2 separate regions of the Homo sapiens genome follow, and region 1 is linked to region 2. Evidence: promoter capture Hi-C in 16 types of primary human blood cells and fetal thymus (Javierre and others, 2016). All regions are on one chromosome and are shown on one strand. The core of a region is centred on a gene start or on the middle of the fragment in contact, and the rest is flanking DNA. Distances in the headings are between cores, read along the strand shown. Region 1 overlaps ARAP1 (ArfGAP with RhoGAP domain, ankyrin repeat and PH domain 1). Region 2 holds the start of ATG16L2 (autophagy related 16 like 2).

Evidence for each region. The method cuts DNA at HindIII sites, captures the fragments that hold promoters and counts their contacts. A CHiCAGO score of 5 or more calls a contact.
Region 1: a contact is called between a fragment that was not itself captured here and the fragment with the promoter of ATG16L2 in region 2, in 13 of 17 cell types (megakaryocytes, total CD8 T cells, M1 macrophages and 10 more). The highest score is 9.2, in megakaryocytes.

Annotation. Positions count from the first base shown.
Region 1 is chr11:72,729,992-72,732,691 of GRCh38, reverse strand. It overlaps ARAP1 (ArfGAP with RhoGAP domain, ankyrin repeat and PH domain 1), which reads left to right. Exons shown (of 35, transcript NM_001040118.3): 2 at 95-177. Among named protein-coding and RNA genes, the nearest start is that of ARAP1, 21 kb to the left of the region's middle. The HindIII fragment of the contact is 288 bases long and covers 1,191-1,478 here.
Region 2 is chr11:72,812,967-72,815,666 of GRCh38, reverse strand. It overlaps ATG16L2 (autophagy related 16 like 2), which reads right to left and starts at 1,256. Exons shown (of 18, transcript NM_033388.2): 1 at 1,104-1,256. The coding sequence starts at 1,221. LOC107984421 (a long non-coding RNA gene) reads left to right here and starts at 1,600. Exons shown (of 3, transcript XR_007062771.1): 1 at 1,600-2,700. RefSeq lists enhancers at 484-633, 2,644-2,700 and silencers at 1,164-1,613, 2,014-2,103. The HindIII fragment of the contact is 2,352 bases long and covers 294-2,645 here.

The DNA.
Region 1 (2,700 bases), core at 85-2,584, 83 kb after region 2:
TTTTCCCTGTCCCTCTCCCTCTTCCCCTCTCCTTCTCTGGCATCTCATAGTGGCCTTGCCTCACGGGCTTTCTCCTCCATCCCTGTCCTTGCAGCTCCCGCCTCAGGCCGAGATGAGGAGCCCTTCAGAATAGCTGCTGTCTCTGGGAGGACCCGGGCGTCCTTGGCAGCCCAGCTGGTGAGTCAGGAGGTGGAGCGGTGGGAACAGGGCTGGCTGTGGCACGCTAGGCCTTAACATTGAGGTCGGGGAAGGCTTGATGGAGGCTGACACCTGATAGCCCATTTTCCATTTTGAGAACTGAGCTTGAGAGGCAGAGGGTGAGGCCCAGAGAGCTTGCTACGAGCCTCCCAGCAGGCCTTGGAACCTTGGAACAGGGTGGGGGTACGAGACAGAGGGACAAGGCAGGGGCCAGCAGGCTGAATTGCAGGTCTGTGTTTATGTATCTCCTCACTGGATTCCCCTCCCTGCCTGGCAAGTTTTGTTCCCTTTCTCATTCTCAGGCTCTATTCATGGTTATCACATTCCCTTTTAATTTTTATTTACTTTTTGGAAAATGATACAAAATTTAAAAGATACAGAAGGGTATAGTGTCTCCTGTCTTCCCAGCTGTCAATTCCCCTCCCCAAACTCAGTTTTATATATATCCGTCCAGTTTTCTGTGTTTATATTTGCATATATATATAACATATGTATATTTTTTTCTTTTTCTTTAACCGAGATGTTTACATAACACTGTTCTGCATCTTGCTTTTCCACTTAACACATCTCTAATATCATTTTATATGAACTTTAGAATCTGCTGGTCTCAACAAATTCCAGCTGGTAATTTTAGTTGGGATGGTGTTAAAGTTTTAGCTTAACCCTGGAGGAACTGACATCTTTATATGTTGAAGTGAAAAGTCTCCCTCTCCTCAGAGGTGGATTTCCAGGGAAGCTGGAGTTTGAGGTGCAGGGCTCCTTCCAGGATCTAAAGAGGGTCCTGAACAGTGTGTGCATGTGGTCATGTGTTTTTGTGAATTTTGCAAAAGTGAGATACTCTTAAGGAGAATGTGTTAGTCTGTTTTGTATTGCAATCAAGGAATACCCTGAGTAATTTATAAAGAAAAGAGGTGTATTTGGCTCAGGGCTCTGCAGGCTGTATAAGCATGGCACCAGCATCTGCTCAGCTTCTGGTGAGGCCTCAGGAAGCTTTTAGTCAGGGCAGAAGGCAAAGCGGGAGCAGGCATGTCACATGGTGAGGGAGGAAGCAAGAGAGAAGCCGGGCTCTTTTAACCAGCTAGCTCTTACATGAACAAATAGAGTGATAACTCACTTGTTACCATGGGGAGGGCACCAAGCTATTCATGAGGGATCTGTCCCCGTGACCCCAGACACCTCCCACTAGGTCCACCTCCAACATTGGGGGTCACATTTCAACATGAAATTTGGAGGGGACAAACATCCAAACCATATCAGAGGGCACTTAAATTGTGTAAGCTTCAGGTCCCATGAACTTCAGGCCCTGTGAACTCTGCATCTTCCACTGTTCCCTCCTGTCCCTTCAGGCCTTAGTTTTCGTCCTAGGAGGAAGCTGATAACTGTTGTCACCTTGCCCTCATGTGTCTTTTCAGAGATACTTTGTTCATTTACCAGTAGCTGCACACTACTCCATGCTCCCCCTTGTTTTTTTCACAGAGAGAGAATGTTACACAAACTGTTCTGCACTTTTCTTTACTCCTTTAACAGTGTATCTTATAGATCATCCCATGTCAATATGTGAGGAGTTTCCTCATTCTTATGGCCGCTCAGTATTCTATTGCACAACTACAACATAATTTAGTTAACTATTCTCCCATTGATGGCCATTTTGGTTATTTCCATTCTTTTGCTATTAAACACAGGCACTGTAGCTAGTAACCTTCTATATATGTCAATTCTGGCAGGTGCCAGTAAAAATGCAGGCTAAGTGCCTATGGGTGGCTGGGTCAGCCATCTGCATCTCTGTTTTTGGGGGAGGCGGGAGGACAAAGTGTCCCCCAGGCTGGAATGCAATGGTGTGATCTCGGCTCACTGCAACCTCCACATCCTGGGTTCAAGCGATTCTCCTGCACCTCAGACTCCTGAGTAGCTGGGATTACAGGTGTCTGCCACTGTGCCTGGCTAACTTTTTGTATTTTTAGTAGAGACGGGATTTTACCATGTTGACCAGACTGGTCTCGAATTCCTGACCTCAAGTGTTGGGATTACAGGTGTGAGCCACCGCGCCCAGCCCAGACATCTGCATCTCTTAGGGCTTTCATGCCTAGAGGCATTCCACAGCCAGGGAAGGGATGCCCTACCACATCACCAATGCCTGTATTTTCCAACTTTATTGCTCTTTGACAATCTGATAGGTAGAAAGCAGTATTTCAAAATATTTTACATTCATATTTCCTAGTGTGGGGGAGGTTAAGTTCCTTTTCAGATATTTAAGAGCCATTTATATTTTCCTTTTTGTAAATTTTTTCATTCATACTCTTTGCCCATTTTTCTGTTAGATTATTGATCCGTTTCTTATTTCTGCATGCTTTTCAACTTTTAGGAAAATGAGCCCTTTGTGTGGAATATGAGTGGCAGATATCCCCTAGTTTGTTGTTTAGCTCTTGGCTTTGCTTATGGTGCTTTTTACCATGCAAGAGTGCTTGATTTTTGTAGAGTTGAATATTTCAGTCTTTTCTGTGT
Region 2 (2,700 bases), core at 7-2,506:
TAAAGAAGGTCTCTATACCCAATTAACAAGTAAGAAGACTGAGGCTTAGCGATGTGATCTGCCCAAGGTTTCAAGACTGGCCCTTCAGTCTGATTTCAGCCCTCCAGATCTCTCTAGTCCCTCAGACTCACAGCTCCCTGGGTCGGGGCGGGGGGCAGGGGTTGGGGGGGCGGTGACCCCCTCCCTCAAACTGGACGGTTCCACTGTCTGTCTGAGCAGTGGAGAAGTGTGGCTGCTGGAGGTGGGGGCTGGCCTCGCAACCCTGAAGGTAGAGGACCAGCAGCCTGGAAGCTTGCAGAGAAATTTTCCTGGCTAAGAGCAGATTTGATTGTGGGGGTTTGGCCAAGATTAGCCCCAGTGAGAGAGCCGCAGGGATTGTGGTTAGACTTCCAACCACAGACATACAATCGCAGGCGGCCAGAGGTGCGACACACAGGCACACCTGTTCATCCCCTCTTGAAATGCCACACCCTATCCTGACCAGCTGCCCAGAAACAATTCTGAGAGTCCGACTTCGCTGGGCTCAGCCAGCATCCACCAGCAGCCCGGGGCCCCCTGATGCCCCCTCAGGCTGGGTAGGCTGACAGGGAGGTGTTCCATAAGCCTGTGCCAGCGTCGCCTGTCAGCGGCAGAGCCTGAGATGCACAGCCTCCTCCTTAGAGGTTCCGAGTGTCGCCCCTCTCCGGATGGGCCAATAAGTGGCTGCTCTGGACAAGTCCCGCGTTCTTTCACTGCGCTACCGAGACTAAGTGCACTGATCAAGCCCCTACCCCGGGGACTGCCCGGGTGGGGAGGCAAAAGAGACCCTGCAAAACCAACACCCGAGGACGCACTTGCGTCTCGGAAGCCCAGCTTGTGGGAGGCAGAGCCCGTCCTGAGGGGCGACGAGGGCAGGGGGACCAGGAGGGGCTCGTCCAGGTTCTAACCAGAGCCTGGATGGCAAGGGGCGGAGTCCTGGCAGTCGGGATGGGCGTAACGCACAGGCTCAAGGCATAAGGCACAGCGCACTCGGGTCACAGGCGGAGGAGCCAGCCAAACCCTCTCCCCGCGCCCGTAGCCGCGTCCCCTCAGCCGCCATCCTCTCAGCACCGGGGCGCACTCACAGGCCGGCACCAGCTCCAGGAAAAGCGCCTTTTGCGTACGGTCCCGAAGCCGCAGCTGCCGCACGATGTGGCGTTTCCAGCGCGCTGCGGGGGCACCGGGGACGCCCGGCCCCGCCATGGCCGCGCTCTCCCGCCTAGCGGCGCGTTCCTCCCGCCCAGGACGGCGCCAGGCCGGGGCGGGGCCTCGCGGGGACTCCGTGACGCCAGGGGGCGGGCGGCGGCGGGGAATCCCCGGCTTGTCCCAAGAGGGCTTTGGCGGGGAGGACCGAAGGCCGACGCCGGGAGGATCTGCCTCCGGGAGGAGCCGCCTCCGGGTCTGAACCGCCGGGGCCCCGTCCGAAATGTTCACCTAAGTGGGGGCTCCTGTGGCTGCGAGGGTCATAAGCAGGAGCGAGGTCGGAGCCTCCGGGGAGGCTTCCCCCACGCGGGTGGAGCGCTCCGGAGGCGGGGCCCTCAAGGCCCGGGTGTCTTAACCCCGCCGCGCCCGGGCCGAGTTCGAGAGCCGCTGGTGCTTCCCAGGCCGTCGCGCTCCTGGCCGCGCACCCAGCCAGGGACCCAGAGGCCCTCAGCCCCGGGCTCTGCGCGTACACTGAGGGCGCGGCGCAGCAGGACAGCAAGATAAGGAAGCAGAGACTGAAGGGAGGAATCCCCGCTTTCCGGGGATGATGGCGTTCGAGTTGGGTCTGTGAGGGATGAAATAGGAGTTGGCCAGAGGGAGAGAGGGACTCTAGGCCTCGAGAAGAGCACGTGCAGAGGTTCCGTGACACGAAAACGCCAGGTGGGTGCGGGGCTGGGAGGACAGGAGGCAGAAGGGTTTACGGCTCCACATGGTCGCCGAAATTTTAGGTCCCTGAGAGTAAAGGGGTGCAGCTGATTTCATCTAGAAAGCCCCTGGCCGGGAGGAGAGAACGAGCTTGCTTGCCTGGGGTTGCAAAGGAGTGGGTAGCTGAGACGGCCAGCACCCCAGCATCCTGACTCAGGGCCAGACGCTTCACCCCATTGGGCGGCGTCTGGAGGAGCAGACACATCTCTTGTGGGTACCCTCGAAAGTGAATCATGGGTCGCAGGGAACTGTGGTCAAACCGTCTCTAGCTAGATGCTAGAGAGCCAGCTCTGCAGGCTCAGGCTACTGTGAGACACGAAAGGAGGGACTCGCTGGGCACAGCCTCACCCTGGGGCATGCCAGCAGGCCCTGCCCTCTGAGTGTTGGCAGACTTGAACATCCCTAGGGAACGAGAGAAGTTGGGCAACGATGGGAGAGCAGTGCAGGCCCTGGAGGTGACGAGTCTGTTGAGATTCTGATGGGGATGGGTCAGAGGACGTAGAAAGCAGTGAAGGCCTAGACGCCCCCAGGTCAGTGTAGCCTGCTCTGCTTCCAGTGAGCTGGGCTCAGTCCCCCACATGTCATTGTCTTAGACGCCCATGGCCTTTGCACAGGCCGAGCCTGATGTTTGGAACATCGTCGCCTCTAGGGGGCCTGGCTCCTAATCATGCATCACCTCCTCCAGGAGAACTTTCCTGCCCCTACACTGAGTTCAAGCTTCTCAGACACCAGCCCCAGTTGAGTTCGAGTTATAACCGTCACCAGTTATCACAC